Linked DNA regions of Homo sapiens: regions 2, 3 and 4 are each linked to region 1. The links are contacts of gene promoters, found by promoter capture Hi-C in blood cells and fetal thymus (Javierre and others, 2016). All regions are on one chromosome and are shown on one strand. Each heading gives the region's core, a stretch centred on a gene start or on the middle of the fragment in contact. The rest is flanking DNA. Distances are from core to core; before and after follow the strand shown. Region 1 overlaps UNC79 (unc-79 subunit of NALCN channel complex). Region 2 holds the start of ITPK1 (inositol-tetrakisphosphate 1-kinase). Region 3 holds the start of COX8C (cytochrome c oxidase subunit 8C). Region 4 holds the start of MOAP1 (modulator of apoptosis 1).

What was found. The method cuts DNA at HindIII sites, captures the fragments that hold promoters and counts their contacts. A CHiCAGO score of 5 or more calls a contact.
Region 2: the fragment with the promoter of ITPK1 here is called in contact with a fragment that was not itself captured in region 1 in 2 of 17 cell types (total B cells and naive B cells); the score reaches 9.3 in total B cells.
Region 3: the fragment with the promoter of COX8C here is called in contact with a fragment that was not itself captured in region 1 in 1 of 17 cell types (M1 macrophages); the score reaches 5.5 in M1 macrophages.
Region 4: a contact is called between the fragment with the promoter of MOAP1 here and a fragment that was not itself captured in region 1, in 1 of 17 cell types (M2 macrophages). The highest score is 6.7, in M2 macrophages.

Annotation. Positions count from the first base shown.
Region 1 is chr14:93,616,632-93,620,704 of GRCh38, forward strand. UNC79 (unc-79 subunit of NALCN channel complex) reads left to right here. Exons shown (of 52, transcript NM_001395159.1): 29 at 491-673; 30 at 1,561-1,723. Among named protein-coding and RNA genes, the nearest start is that of PRIMA1, 170 kb to the right of the region's middle. The HindIII fragment of the contact is 2,180 bases long and covers 1,507-3,686 here.
Region 2 is chr14:93,113,777-93,117,762 of GRCh38, forward strand. It overlaps ITPK1 (inositol-tetrakisphosphate 1-kinase), which reads right to left and starts at 2,149. Exons shown (of 11, transcript NM_014216.6): 1 at 1,996-2,149; 2 at 1,293-1,529. The coding sequence starts at 1,387. The HindIII fragment of the contact is 12,611 bases long and covers 1-3,986 here.
Region 3 is chr14:93,344,959-93,349,064 of GRCh38, forward strand. It overlaps COX8C (cytochrome c oxidase subunit 8C), which reads left to right and starts at 2,224. Exons shown (of 2, transcript NM_182971.3): 1 at 2,224-2,436; 2 at 3,070-3,398. The coding sequence starts at 2,311. The coding sequence ends at 3,162. It also overlaps a transcript of UNC79 not described here. The HindIII fragment of the contact is 4,764 bases long and covers 1-3,997 here.
Region 4 is chr14:93,183,383-93,187,162 of GRCh38, forward strand. MOAP1 (modulator of apoptosis 1) reads right to left here and starts at 1,515. Exons shown (of 3, transcript NM_022151.5): 1 at 1,428-1,515; 2 at 1,177-1,331; 3 at 1-980. The coding sequence starts at 860. It overlaps LYSET (lysosomal enzyme trafficking factor), which reads left to right and starts at 1,935. Exons shown (of 2, transcript NM_001098621.4): 1 at 1,935-2,103; 2 at 2,878-3,780. The coding sequence starts at 2,024. The coding sequence ends at 3,289. The HindIII fragment of the contact is 7,901 bases long and covers 1-3,780 here.

The DNA.
Region 1 (4,073 bases), core at 1,347-3,846:
GGATTGCAGGCATGAGCCACTGCACCTGGCATGTGCTTTTTCTTATTCCTGAATATATATTACTAAATTGTTCTCCTGAAAGATTGTATCAAGTTTGGTTGGTATAATACTTGGTTCAGATTGAACCAAGTATTGCCGGTCGTCTAGGAATTCCCATTTCTGCAGGTGGTTACCAATACTAGGTTTCTTCATTGTCTAGTTTAACTCTGGTTAATAGTTGAATGGACAAAATTTTATTTTCAATAGGTACTGAAACAAATAATTAATTAGATTAAAACTATTTTCATTTACAAGTTTCAAAAATTTTTTGTGAGGTTGGACTTTTCCTCCTTCTTGCGTACTAGCCATTACTTTTAATATTCTGTGGGATGCCTGTTAAATATTTTGCCTGTTAAAAATTTTAACCACTGGGATGGCTCAAATTTTTCCTTTTGACCTCTGAGTGTTCTTTGTAGTTTTCCATCAGTTATTAATATTTTTTCTATTTCAGGTTATGGACTATAACATTAACTTGGGAAAACACCTTCTCCCCTTAGTGGTTCAGGTGCTCAAATACTGCTCTTGTCCTCAACTCCGGCATTATTTCCAACAGCCGCCTCGTTGCTCCCTCTGGTCCCTAAAGCCTCACATCCGGCAGATGTGGTTGAAGGCCTTGCTTGTCATCCTTTACAAGGTGAGCTGGGTGGTCACTGCTGTTTTGGATGCAATGGTTCTCTTAGAGAGCATATAGCATTAGGAGAACACCTGAGTCTTTAGTTGAAAATTTTGTAGAAGTTTGACCTTCAGAAGGAAGATCAGGATATGCAATTACTGTTAAGAACCAAAGAGCTATTGAAATGAAAATAGAAATGGGAGGCCCTGTTAATATATGCTCTAAAAATGTTTAAAACAAAGAATGATAAATGGTAGGCTACTGATCAAGAACCTCTGTTTATACTCAGTCTTGTATTTTGTCTAAGTATTATTATTTCAGAAAACAAAAGATATCTGAAATTGTATTCATCCACTAAAGGTTTATGCCAGATAATTTTCTTGAAAAGAAATGTAACTATGAACTGGCATGCATTGCTGTCAGTGGTTTGGTGAAGGAGGAAATGAATATGGTCCCTTGTAAAAATAAGGCCATGGGGGAGGGCGTGGTGGCTCACTGCTGTAATCCCAGCACTTATGGGAGGCCGAGGTGGGTAGGTTGCCTGACTCCGGGAGTTCGAGCCCAGCCTGAGCAACATGGTGAAATCCCATCTCTACAAAAAATTAGCCAAGCATGGTTGCACGTGCCTGGTCCCACCTACTTGGGAGGCTGAGGTGGGAGGATCACCTGAGCCCGGTAGGCTGCTATGATCACGCCACAGCACTCCAACCTGGGTGACAGAGTGAGACCCTGTCTCTAACTAAACAAATAAATAAGGCCATGAGCAGAATTTGTTTCTACTTCTCTCTCTCTCTCATATATATATTTATCCCCAAGAGATACTGCAAAAAGTATCCAGCAAGATCAGGTGGAAAAGCTTACCCTCTAAAATAACCATTTATCTTTTTCTCTCTCGTTTCATTGGGCAGTATCCATACCGAGACTGTGATATCAGCAAGATCCTGCTGCATCTGATTCACATAACAGTCAATACACTCAATGCGCAGTATCATAGCTGCAAGCCCCATGCCACGGCAGGACCTTTGTACAGTGACAACAGTAACATAAGCAGATACAGCGAAAAAGAAAAAGGTACATATCTAAATTCTATCCCAAACCTAGCTTCAATACATAATAGATTTCTGGACAATGTTTTCTTAGGAGATAGAAGAGTGTTCCCAGATATCATTCTGGAGTAAAAAAAAAAATCACTTTCTTAATTTTCCAACTTTCCATGAATGTTGCTGCTTTAACTTTGAAATTGAGCATTCAAGAGGAATAAATGATGTGCTTCCAAAGCCTGTATCATAAGAAATAATATTTTGTAAGATATTTTCTGCTGTTTGAATCAGGAGCCTTTGTAAGCCTTTTCTTACGTGTTAGAAGCATCTCGTTTTTGGGCTATAAAATAAGTCTTGGTTGGCACACAGTGGAGCCATTCTTTGTAGGTCTCTAGTTTGCCCTGGTCTTTGCGCTCATAGAGTTTCAATGGAGTCTAAGTTTGCTGAAGTGCTTTTTCCTAGACTTTTAATTTAATACAAAGTGATTCAAGGCAAGGGAAATGAAACATTTTTGCTGCATAGGTGTAAGCTATCTCCATTATCAACACTTTTTCTATTGCTACCTTTTTCTAAAAGGGGCAGTAGAATGCAACTTTAGCTAGGGTAAAATTGCAGCCTGTTTTCAGGTGAGACACGAAGAACCAGGGTGTATATTTTTAGTTTTTAGTGTAAGTCACGGCTGACTAGATTTTAAATTGACATCATTTAATCTAGTCTTTGGAAAAAACCAAGTGTCCACTGACCCTTTATGAGGTTAGTAGAGTCTGTTTTAGTAGGACTGCTCTGGAGATACCTCAAAAGTATAAATTGTACCAGTGTTCCTGTTTGTTATTGCTGAAAGTTCCAAAAATCTAGTTTGGCTACAGACGGAACTCGAGAACTAGGTTCTTTAAGTTCTGGTACCATTCAGATCCCTCCTAAAGAATATCTTGTCTACCAGTTTAGGGTTTAGTCTCTGGCAAATTGGGGAGATCTGTTAAGCTATGGATGTTTTCAGCGTGGGCTTAGTGTTTGGGCCAAACCCTGATGAACCTTTCTGGATGGGAGGCGCCATCTTGTGGTCTTTCAGTCTTGAGTGTTCAATGCATTTTGAAAATTGTTTCAAAGTTATGTAATGCAAGTCACGTAACTATTGGTTGGAAAAACTGCATTTTTCAAAGGATATTTTTCCAAAAAGGAAATAGAGAAGTAAAACAGATTATTGTGTTGCGTTTCCCCAGAAACATGGGAATTTGATAGGCATTCCCATCTTTGTGGAAGTTCACTGGGTTTAAAAACAAATTCATTTTGATTAACATTTATTTTTATTTAATTAAAAAGTTTAGTATGGTTATTTCATCTAAAATTTACTACTTCAAGTTTCATTTACTTGTAGAATTTTGTGCATTAGAACAGGGTCAGTCCTTAAAACTTGATGTATATACTGCCCTTATGCTAAAAAAAACCTTGAATAATCATAATCGCACCTGAGCCTCATTTGTCATATAGGTAGATGTAAATACAGGCCAAACATTATGAGTTCAGTGATATTCAACTTGAATAGTAGGTAAACTCATTATGATGCTATTAAATGCATTTTAGTAGCCTTTTCTGTTGCCACTTTGTACGTGGCTTTGGCCTTTCAAAAGGACGAAAGAAGAAAATTGGTTAAGTAAACTTTATGGGTTGCAACATATGAACTCTTTCCTCATTAACATATTTTGGGGTTTATCTTGGATTTAAAAATGGCCACATGGGTGTAGAAGGGAGGACGTAGAAACAAGTTCAACAGGCACTCAAAGTGACCGGTTTGTTTATGTAGGATTAGGGATCATAAGTGTCAAAGATTCTTTCTGGGATTCATGAGATCCGTAATAGTTACACGTGGTAAGCGCCTCAGAGAAGAGTCTTACTTTAATAGGAGGAAATGTTATTTTCTGTTTTCTTTTTCCTTTGTTTACTCTTTCAGTCCATAATCATTCGTGGAGCTTTTGAGATGACAAGTGGCTTTTCTAAGCTTTTTCTGTGTGTTGCGTGTCTCATTATCAAATGTAGAGTACAGTATTTTGCATTCACACCGTATAAGGTGCATGTACTGTTAGGCTGTGTCTATGCCAGTTACCAAATCCCATAAAGGCAGATTTTTTTTTCTTTTTTGGAAAGCCCAAGATCCACTCATTTTGTTTAATTTCCTTTCGCCAAATCAGCCTGAAAATCCACGCAAAGCAGACAAGTCCAAGCAGTGTCACAGGCTCCTGGAAAAAGTAGCTGACATCTATGTGTCATCTGGTGTTAAGCACACTGGAAAAGTTTCCCAAAAAGGCGCTATTGGACTCTCAAGAAGCCTCTCCTTAAAAATGCTGCCAATTGTCATGTGAAAAGTGATGGGCAATCTTGTAACA
Region 2 (3,986 bases), core at 899-3,398, 500 kb before region 1:
GGCCTGGGAGAAGGCAGCCAACCCCATCCCCAGACCAAGGGATAAAGAACCAGGCACTATCCTGTACAAGCTGTGCCCCTCTGGCTGCAGGAAGAGCGCCTGCGGGGCTTGCACGGGGCAAAGGAGCAGCAGGCCCTTGGGAAAGGCATGAGGCACACAGAGGTGCTGCCAGGCTCACCTGCGCATGCCAGCTCAGACCAGCCACGGGCCCCCAGGAGCACCAGGGGTTACGGAAACCCAACTGTTCAATTCTCCAAGATGTGTGGGGCCCCCACAGGGACAAAAATGCAAGTAGAGCCCATTTTCAAAAATCAGTCTAACAAGCTGCATCACAAAAGGTTTCCACCTGGAGTTTGCAAAAGGCTTTCAGAGCTAGATTCTCTTAGGCTTGCATTGAGAAAAGGGCTTAACTGCTTCTCAGAGGCAAAGCTACAGTTGTGGAGCAAGGGAAGGCCTACCTGACCCAAGACTCAGTAGTTCTGTAATTTATTAAGAACGTGATCTGTTAAACACCGGAGACTCCGCCAAGGAGCACCAGCATGGTGGGAGCAGGGGCACACAGCCCAGATGGCAGAAGGCCACTCCACACCACGGGCATTTACCCAGCACTTTCTACGCACCAGCCACTCCCTAGCTGCGGGACCCCAAGCTAGGTACCCCGCTCCTCTGCCGATCGGTCCCCGTTCTCAGACAGGTGGCCCAGAATCACCACCCTGGCCAATTTGCAGGGCTGCTGCGAGGCTCTAATGAGACAGCAAATCACCACATACATGCCAAGAATTGCTACTCGCTTCAACTGGGCTTAACCTCATGATATGCAATGACAGCCTCAAGAGCCGAGCACACGCGGGGCACATAGTAGGTGGTCCACAAACGTGGGTGCCCTTTCTTCATGAAAGGGAAGGGGACGAAGGAAGAAAAACACTCCGGTCCAAAAGTACCCTCAAGCCCTTACCCCACAGCGTGGATGCCCCGATTTCCCAGGTCCCTCCGCAACCCTCAGTAGAACTCCCACCGCGCCCTGGGCTGCTGGGGGCCTCCCCAGCCGGGTCACAGTGCACCTGAACGCCCCGGTCCGTGCCACCTCGCCCGCACCGGCCACCGCTTCCCTGGAACGCGGCCGGCGGCCGCCACCGCCACCTGGCTGCTCGGACTCAGTCTCCCCGCGCGCCGCTTCTTCCCGTTTGGCTCCGATCTCCCAAAACAACTAATGAGGCTGCACCGGGCTCGGGCCGGGGGTCACCGGGCTCGGGCCGGGGGTCCCCGGGCGCCGGCGCCGCGTCCCTCCTTACCTGCACAGCTCGGCGAAGGCCTGGAAATTCAGCTTCTTGATTTTCTTCTCGCTCAGCCAGTAGCCAACTCTCTTCCCTTTCAGAAAGGTCTGCATCTTCCTCCTCGGGCGGGGAGCCTGGGTCCGGAGGAAATCGCCCACAGGCCGAGTCTGGCGGCCGGCGCGCGCCGCGAGCGAGTGGGCACCTCCTCCCGGCGGCGGGGACGCGGAACGGGGATCGGAGCTGGGGCGCGCAGTCCTGCCGCGCGGAGCGGAGCGGGGCGGGGCGCGGCGGGCGGCCGGGAGGAGGGAGCGGCGCTCAGCGCGGAAGGCCACTGGCTGGGCCAAGCTGCCACCGCCCACGCCCCCGCCGCCTGCGGGCTCGCCCGCCCGCCCACCGGCTCGCGAGCGCCGCGCCGCCCGGCCTGCCGGCTGAGGCTGGGGCACGGCTGAGCCTGAGTCTGAGTCGGAGCTGGGGCCAGGGCCCGCAGGAGGGGAAGCCGGGCCTCCGCAGACACCGCCCCCGCCCTGCCCGCCCTCCCGCCGCGCGGGCCCGAGCCACACGCCCTCAGGCGGCGGCAGAAGCGCGGCCTCCGAGCCCTTCCTCCCTCCTCCTCCCGCCCGGGTCCTCGCCCTCTGATGTTCCCAGCCGGGCCGTAACCCCTGGGCGCGCTTGGACCCCGGCGGGGCGCACGCGGCCACTCGGCCCGGCCAGAGATCCTCACCCGCCGCCGCCGCCGCCACTTCCTCCTCGGCCTGGTCCTCGCGCGCTGCCCGCCGAGAAGGGCGGCGGCGAGCGCCCGCGCACTCGCCGCCCCTGCCCGCCGCCGCCCCGCGCTGGCCCGGCCGCCCCGCTTGAGCCCGCGGCGGCGAGGAAGCGGCGGGGCGGCCGCCAGGGGGCAGCGCCGCCCGCCGCCTCTTAAAGGCGCCGCGCCGGCCCTCGCGGCTACCCGGCGCCTGTTTGTGTCCCCGGGTGTGGGGTGCGGGGCGCGGGGCTTCCTGGGGGCGGCCGTGGCCCGGCGGTCTTACTTCGGGAAGGGAGCCGCGGTGTGGGCGTGTGTTCCGCCTGGCCTTTGGGGGCGACCGAGCCGCTGAGTTTCGGAAACGTCTCTGTACCCCCAGCAGGGTTCAGCACCCCCAAGGCAATCCATTGCAACTGCGCCCGGAAGGAGACCTTCCAGGAATTCGCCCCTTCCCTCGAGGAAGCGGACCCTGGCCCAGGATGGGGCCCCCCGGGGGGGTGGGTGAACACCCAGGGGCCCTCCTAGGCGTAGGACGTGACCACCAGTTCTCACTCTAGGTCCCCTTCACTGAGGGGGGAAGGGGCGGGGACTGGAGGCGACAGCGACAACAGCGGCCGTCCCCGGAGACCCCTTCCTCAGGGGTGCGGGTCAGCGTCGGCGCCGGGGAGTCACTAAACCCCGCCTACCCTGCCCTGCCCTATGGGGCAGCCAGGGAGCTTTCCTGCCTCAATGGTCTCTGGGTTTGGGAAGGAGAAATGGACTTCTCTCCCCAGGCCCAGGCAGGAAAAATGGATTCCCGTGGAGGGAAGGCTCAGAAAAGTTTGAGAGGAGACACTGAAGCTGGCCTTGGAAATCAAGGAGATTTTGATGGAGCAGGGAAGGGGGATGAGCTTGAATTGAGGCTGGGAGACAAGAAAAAGCCAAGTTGCCAGCGGGTGACCAAGACTTCCCTTGATCACACTTGAGTCAGGCTCCTCCGAGACCTCTTTCTGACCAGGCCCCGACCTTGGGCTCTGTCCTTGGCCTTCTTAGTCCAGTTTTAGCCAGAATCCTGCTGTCAAGAATATCTCCACGCTTGGTATGTGATCACCCTGGCCGGCCTACATTAAGAAACTCCGTCTCAAAAAAAAAAGAAAGACAAGGATCTCTCTATGCTGCCCAGGCTGGAGTGCAATGGTGCAGTCATAGCTCACTGCAGCCTCGAACACCCCTGCTAAACTGATCCTCCCACCTCAGCCTCCCGAGCAGCTGGGACTACACTGTGTTGCCCAGGCAGGTCTCGAACTCCTGGCCTCAAGCTGTCCTCCCACCTGGGCCTCCCAAAGTGCTGGGATTGTAGACCTGAGCCACCCCGCCTGGCTTCCCTGCCATCTTTAACGAGAATCTGATTAGTTTTTTTCTTTAACAAGGTAGAGAAAACGGATGGATGGAGAGTGGAAAAGACGATGGGTGGGAAACAGGACTCCTCCAGGGGGCCAGCTAGGGACGGGCACTGCATGCCTTAGGCAAGGGTACTGCGAGTTTCATAGGCCATGGGAGCCTAGAAGGTAAGTGGTGACAGGTTCCAGGGTCAGCTCTGTGGCTTAGAATGCCTGGCTCCTGGGGGGGACATGGAAAGCTGGATAAAGGGAAGATCATAGCAAGGACCCCTAGGGCCGAGGCACAAGATGGATAAAAGAAGGCTAAGGGAGGCTGCGCATGGTGGCTCATGCCTGTAATCCCAGCACTTTGGGAGGCCGAGGTGGGCACATCATGAGGTCAGGAGATTGAGATCATCCTGGCTAACACGGTGAAACCCTGTCTCTACTAAAAATACAAAAAATTAGCCGGGCGTGGTGGCGGGCGCCTGTAGTCCCAGCTACTTGGGAGGCTAAGGCAGGAGAATGGCGTGAACCTGGGAGGCAGAGCTGGCAGTGAGCTGAGATCGTGCCACTGCACTCTAGCCTGGGCAACAGAGTGAGACTCCGTCTCAA
Region 3 (4,106 bases), core at 974-3,473, 270 kb before region 1:
AGGCCGAGGCAGGTGGATTGCTTGAGGCCAGGAGTTCAAGACCAGCCTGGGCAACATGGTGAAACATGCCCCAGAGTTAGGAGGCGGGGCCTTTGGGAAGTAATTAGATCATACCACAGCCCTCATGAATAGGATTAGTACCCTTATAAAAGAGGCCCTAGAGAGCTACCTTGTTGCTTCCATCATACGAGGACACAACCAGAACAAGGAAGTGGGCCCTCACTGGACATCAAATCTACCAGCACATTGATTTTGAATTTCTAGCATCCAGAACTGTAAGAAATACATTTCCGTCATTTATAAGCCATCCAGTCTGTTGTATTGTAACAGCCTGAACAGACTGAGACAGTAACAGAAAGGAACAAAAGTAACTGACCTGCTTCTTCATATTCATAAGCATGAAATGACAACCAAGGATCATAAGATACTTGAATAAAACTGGCAAGTTCAAAATAAATAAATAGAATGTACGCTAAAGAAACACAGTTCATGGAATAGAGATAACTTTTTAAAAGTTCAGATTAATATTCTGAAAGAAATCTAAAGTGATAATATCTATAAAATACTAACAGGTGACTGTAAAAGCAAAAAATAGTATGTTTTAAAACTATAATTCTAAAATAAAAAATCATGGGCTAGAAGAAAAAGTCAAGGAAATCCTGCAAAATGTAGAACAAGGGACAAAACGTTGATGAGTGAGAAAAAGGTTGAAAGACAGAGGTGACCCGCTAAGAAGGGCCAGTGTCCGTCAATAAGAATTTTAGGTTGAGAACAAAGAAAACAGAGAAGCAAATAAATAGGAATAGTGCTCCTATGGCTAAAGAACCATGACTTCAGATAGAAAGGTCTTACCCACTGCTAATCCATATGAATGGAAAAATACCCATATCTAACAGTATCCTGGAGGAACGTCACAATTCCAAAGACAAAAAGGAATGCCTAAAAGATTCCCAAAAGGAAAAAAGAGGGTACTCAAAGGAATGACAACTATATTGGCATTATATTTATCGGCTCACTAGATGCTGGAAAAGAAAGGAACAATGCCTTTTGAAAATCTCTGAAGGACAATGATTTTGAGCCCAGAGTTCTATAACCATTCAAATTAGCATTTAAATGGAGACCAATATATATATATTTTGATTTCCAAGGACTGAGGAACTTTATCACCTACAAACCCTTCCTGAAAGAACAGCTTAAGGATGTACTACAGCAAAACGAAAAGAAATCTAAGAAAGAGGAAGATACCAGGCTGCAGGAACAGAGGAATCCAGAGAAACCCTAGAGTGTTACTCGTGCAATAGGCCCCCAAAAGAAATAATGTGAAGACACAGGATCATTGTAGTGGATAAAGTTTTATTACAGTACTAAATTTAAAAATCACAGTATATTTACTTTTCCCTCAAGAGGGTCTGGGCACAGTGCCTCATGCCTGTAATCCCAGTACTTTGGGAGGCTGAGACAAGAGGATGGCTTGAGCCCAGGAGTTTGAGATCAGCCTGGGTGACACAGTGAGACCTGTCTCTACAAAAAAATAAGAAAATTAGCCGTAGTGACAGATAATTACATCACTGTTTCTACTGGGTCCAAACACTCTATTTGACCCTGCCATGAATATTTTTTATATCATCAGCCGACTATAGAAACTTGTTCTTGGTTTTCAGTGTTAAGAATTAACCTATAGACATTTTATGGAAGATTTAATTTGCATTAGAAACAGTGTGCTATAAACTCTGCCAATGCCAGGGCATGTTAAGAGGTATATAAAGTATAGGTAGAGAGGAAGACAAAGGAAAGGAGTAGGGGTGCCAAGTCCCTCACCTTACCCTGCAGAAAAGAGATACTTAGTGTGAGGTGGGGTTGGGGCTCAGGGGAGGGTGGCAGGAGAGTTTAGGAGAGGATAGGACACGTGGGTGGAAAGTGAGGTGAATGAGGGCTGGGAGGTTGCAGGGAGCCCTGAGTGGAAAAGGCGGGGCAGAGCAGGGGGTACTGAACTGAAGAGAGTGGAGCAGAGCAGGGGTGTGCTGGGTGGAAGGGGTGGTGCAGAGCAAGTGGTGCTAAGCAGAGGGGGTGGGGCAAAGCACGGACTGCTGAGTGGAAAGGGCAGTACAGAGAAAGGAGTGGTGAGCGGAAGAGGCGGGGCAGAGCAGGAGGTGCTGGGCAGAAGGGGTGGGGTAGGGGGCGAGGGCAGAGCGCCCCCTCGTGGCTGGGGCGCCTGCGCAAACCAGCTGCCTCACGAGCACTGGAGCTTGCGTTACTTGGCCTCACCTCACCTGTGCTGTCCACGCCTGGCTTTGTCTCACCTGACGCGATATGCCTCTCCTGCGTGGGCGCTGTCCTGCCCGCCGCCACTACCGCCGCTTGGCCCTGCTCGGCCTGCAGCCCGCTCCCCGCTTCGCCCACTCGGGGCCCCCGCGCCAGCGGCCCCTGTCTGCCGCGGTGAGTTGAGGCCCAGCCATCATGGTGGGCGGGAAGCGCGTGGCCCTGGCGGGGCGCCCCGACGGGTGGGGAGAAGGGAGGACACGGCGTGCAGGCCTCGCGTGGGAGGCTCTTGTGGCTTGGTCGCCGTTGGGGGAGGTTCCTGTGGCTTGGTCGCCTTTGGGGGAGGTTCCTGGGAGAGGGTCGCGGTGAGGATGCCGTCGTCGGGCACAGGGGCGGAAAGCCCGGGACCCTGAGGAACGCGCGGGGATTGGGCCTCCTTCGTTGTTACCCTTTACCGGCACCTGGCTCGGGGGCGGGGCTGTGGTTTCGCGGAGGAATGATTTACCATCCTCGGACGTCCTCGGCACTGCGAAGATCTAGCGTTTTCGATAAAATGGTGGAAATCCTGGGCCACATCGAAGTTCCAGAGTGCGAAGGTTGGAACCGGAGACCCCTTAGATGAAAAATGAATTAAAAAAAAAAATCAGGTGATCCATGAATCGATTTTCAGCATTTTAGATTTCACTAGGCGCCTGTTTCTAGGACAACGGTCTAGGTGCTCAAAATGTTTTTTTTAAGCACTTTTTGTTAGGCAGCAAGTCACTGGCCTAGGAAGCCATACTCAGCAGCGCGTGTCATCTTCTCTTCCAGGAAATGGCTGTTGGACTTGTGGTGTTTTTTACGACCTTCTTAACACCAGCTGCATATGTGCTAGGCAACCTGAAGCAGTTCAGAAGGAATTAGATGGAAGATGATGTTGAACAGCTGTTAACGTCCAAAAAACTTTCAGAAAAAGCTGTGTTTTTGTTAACGAGCAAAATTGCCTAGTTGAGTTGATGCAACCATTGTGGTATTCACTTTCCTCATGTTTATGATGAATATTTTGCACTTTTTTAGTACTGTGCATTATATAGATGTATAGTCAAAAATGTTCTGCTTAAGTGTTAAATAAAACGGAAACACTTATTCGTGCTTGGTAATATGTGTGCAGATTATTTTCTAAACATCGTGAAAGCTGATGAAAATTTACCGAGAACTGCTGTGAAAGGTCTGACTTAGTGACTCAGGGAGTGACATTGTTACTATATGGGAGTGAATGTATCTAGTGACATCACCCTTAAAAGATTAGATGTGTAGCTGTGAGGTAATATAAGTTTAGCTAAATGGTTTTTATGTTCTATTAGTACTGCCATGCCACACTTCACAATTTGCTGTGAGAAGTACAACCATTTCTTTGCCTCTTTAAATGACTACACGTCAGAATGTGAAGAATGAGTACATCTCCTATTTTAATGATTTTATTATCTTCTCTTAGTCTTCTGTGAGGTTTGAAGAATCATACACATCTTTGAACTGTCTTAGCTGTTGATGATGCTGTTATCATGGGCAACATAGTTCAACTCTGAGTCTTGGTTTCCTTATCTCTGTAATGGGGACTTAAAATTGCTGTCTTGAAGTGATGTTGTGGAAATAAAACATTGAACAAAGAAAGATAAAGTACCTCTCAACATAGTACCTGAAACAATAGTCAATAAATAGAAGTTGGGCAACCCGCTGGGGTCCCCTTCCGCACTGTGGAAGCTTTGTTCTTTCGCTCTTCGCAATAAATCTTGCTGCTGCTCACTATTTGGGTCCGTGCCGCCTTTAAGAGCTGTAACACTCATGGCAAGGTCTGCAGCTTCACTCCT
Region 4 (3,780 bases), core at 265-2,764, 430 kb before region 1:
CTCTCAATTGCTCCTCTCTGTACCAGCTTCTGTAACAAAGGCTCCAGCCTTAGTACATAAGCCGACAACTTTTCCTCATCCTTCTGGTAAGTGGTTAGATATTTGACCTGCAACTCCCTAGGATTATCTGTAACCCCAAATACCTCCTCAAGAGCCTGCAGACATTCATCGACAGTAATTAAAGGATTGTTTATCTTGAGGACACGAATAACATCAAGTGCTGGGCCTCGAAGGCTCTCTAGCAATCGCCTTCTCTTCTCTACATCTGGCACCTGCCACGCCTTTATCATCTGAGTAGTATGAAACATCCAGCGTCCAAATTCTTCTTCTCCTGGTTCTGGAGACTCCCTGCCCGAGAACACTCTCAGCTTTTTATACTTCAAGCATTGCAGGGCAGGCTGAAGAGCCTCTAATGCCTGTGCCAACATAGGGGCCCACATTTCCGGGATCATGCCCTGCTCTGGGTCTAAGGAGCCATTTTCATGTCCAAGAGCTCTGCTCAACTCACCCACTGTCATGCCCTCTCCCGCTAAAAATTCATTTAATCTGCTTAAAAATGTATTATCTGGGTCAGGGGGCTTAAAGATCACTCTCCAGATACCCCCTTTTCCCGGTATCTCCTTAGGGACCAGGGCGTGACTAGTCTCCGCAGTAAGCCCTACTAAGGCTACTTTCCTGTTCTCATCCCTCCTGAACATCCTTCCAAGCAGTCTGTACTCCCCCAAGGGAGCTAAACCAGCCTGCAGAGCCTCCTCGATTTCTGCCACACTGCAGCTCTGGGAGATGCCGGCAATCAATAGCGCTTTCCGAGGGTTCATGTCCATCCCCCTGCACCAGTCTTCTAAAAGCCTCAAAGTCATGGTGCCCGAAATAATAGACTTAAGTTCTAAATATGCCAGACCACAGGCGACCACCGAAATTCAAAGTAATCCTCCGCGGTACCCCAGAGAAATCTTGTCAACGTGCCGAGGTCCAGCAGCCTGCAAGACAGAGCAGACAGGTTAGCTAAAGGTGCCAACGTCCAGGGCAAGCGTGCAGGCCCCAAGCCCCGCGCGCCCTGCCCCCAGCGGCGACGCCAGGGCAGCCGCACTGCGGCGCGCGCCCCTCACCCCTCCCAGCCCTGGTGCCTGGCGGATGTCGGGCCTGCAGGGCCGCGTCGGGCCCGCTTCCACTCACCGTGATCTAGTGCTCGTGCCCGCGTCCGTGCGCCGGCGGCCAAGGTGCCTGGCCGGGCCCCGACGAGGCGCGGGAGGGCAGGCTCCCCTAGGCTCTGACGGACACTCGGGGGCCACAGCGACCGATGCCGGTACTCCAGGTGCCTGTGGTACTGTCTGCAACGAGAAGTGATGGGGCGATGACAGTCGCGAGCGGGCACCAGGGGGCAAGGCTGAGGAGCGCTGAGTCGCCAGACCCAGAGAGCCACCCACCTGGAGGGACGTGCCGCCACCCGCGCCGCCGGAGCTCCGGCTCCAGCCCGGATTCCACCTGTTTTGGTCTCGCTCGGGGAAGCTGCGCGGCGGGCGGGGGCGATCTGACGTCATGAGGGGCGGGCCTCGGGGGCGGGGCGCGCGCGCTTCCGGCCCGAGCCGGAAGCTCCGACTGCGGCGGCATCCGGGACGGCGGGCGGGCTGGCCACCACGGGACAGGAAGGTGAGATCCGGGACCTCAGCTTTGCAAGCAGGCTCCGCCGGCGACCGCTGACGGGCGCTGGGCTCGCGGCGCTGCAAGGCGGCGAGGCCCGGGCCTGGCGCCGCCTGCGCAGCCTTGGTCGCGGCGTGCCGGCGCTGCAGCGCGGCAGGGGGCGGGGCCGGCCGCCCGGAGGCCCAAGTGGCGGGGACGCCTCCCTGCCGGGTCAGGTTCTCAGAGCGGGTCTCCGGCGGCGGCGACGGGGGCCGGGCCGCGCGTGACCCGCCGCAGTCACGCCGTTCTTAATCACTAGTAGCTGGTGCTCCAGGCTGGCGGCGCTCACCTTTCTCCTAGCCGGGTGACCCAGGGGATTTATTTTATGTTGGCTTTCTCTGAAATGCCAAAGCCACCCGATTATTCAGAGCTGAGTGACTCTTTAACGCTTGCCGTGGGAACAGGAAGATTTTCGGGACCATTGTAAGTGCTTAGGAGTTACTGTCTTAACTTGGGGGCTTGACTTGTAGCACCCCGCGTTCACGTCTGAAGCAGTACTGTTATGCCAGAAAGTGTTTCACCTGTCAAAGTGAAATGTGCTGTGAGAAACTAGTTTAATTCCAGTTTCTGGAGGGCGGGTATTATGGACCTGTTTAAGTAGGATGCAGTGATTTATTCTGAGGGATTCCCGTTAAAAAGCAGAACTCAGTATATACTGAAATCAATGGTTTTTTGTTTTTTTGTGTGTGTTGTTTTACTTGATTGTAAGTATTACACAAAACAACCTGTAAGTTTTACATTTCTTAATAGGTGTTTAATTTAATTATTTTAAATCTTAAGTGTGTTAGTGGGATATTTTAGAATTCTTTTTTTTTTTTTTTAATTAGACAGAGTCTCGCTCTGTCGCCCAGGCTGGAGTGCAGTGGCGTGATCTCGGCTCTCTGCAAGCTCTGCCTCCTGGGTTCACGCCATTCTCCTGCCTCAGCCTCCCGAGTAGCTGGGACTACAGGTGCCCGCCACCACGCCCGGCTATTTTTTTTGTATTTTTAGTAGAGACGGGATTTCACCATGTTAGCCAGGATGGTCTCTATCACCTGACCTCGTGATCCACCCGCCTCAGCCTCCCAAAGTGCTGGGATTACAGGCGCGAGCCACCGCGCCCGGCCTAGAATTCTTGGAGATAAAGCAAGTACATTTGGAGTAGTTGCCGTGACAGCATTACTAGACCCTAATTGTATTTTCTTTTTTAATTTGAAGGCACAGAGCATGGAGAATGATGAACTTCCGTCAGCGGATGGGATGGATTGGAGTGGGATTGTATCTGTTAGCCAGTGCAGCAGCATTTTACTATGTTTTTGAAATCAGTGAGACTTACAACAGGCTGGCCTTGGAACACATTCAACAGCACCCTGAGGAGCCCCTTGAAGGAACCACATGGACACACTCCTTGAAAGCTCAATTACTCTCCTTGCCTTTTTGGGTGTGGACAGTTATTTTTCTGGTACCTTACTTACAGATGTTTTTGTTCCTATACTCTTGTACAAGAGCTGATCCCAAAACAGTGGGCTACTGTATCATCCCTATATGCTTGGCAGTTATTTGCAATCGCCACCAGGCATTTGTCAAGGCTTCTAATCAGATCAGCAGACTACAACTGATTGACACGTAAAATCAGTCACCGTTTTTTCCCTACGATTACAAAACTGCCAGTCCTATATGGAGTCTGATCACAAGACTGCAGTTTCTTCACAGATCTCAGGAAGTTGTCGTGGGGCAGAGGCTTTTTAAAAACATGTGATTAGGGAGCTATCTTTATCTGAATAATAACGAATTTTTAGGTAAAACCTGAGATAGAGTACTACAAAATCATGTTGATGACTTCAGATTTTGGAAGTTAAATCATGTCTGTTATTTGCATTCTTTAGAAACTTGACTAAGTACCTGAATTCATATTTCTATTCTACTGTGCAACATAGTGATGATTCAGAAATTTTTCCTTTGGGGAAAAAAATGAATATGAACATTTCCATTGTGTTAAGTGTAAAAAGGTCCAGACATGATCATAAAATTTAAATTTTATACAATTACTTGGCTTGCTTTAAAATTCTTCACACTTAAAACACCGATTCATTCTATTGCAGCTAAGCCAGCTGTCTAGAC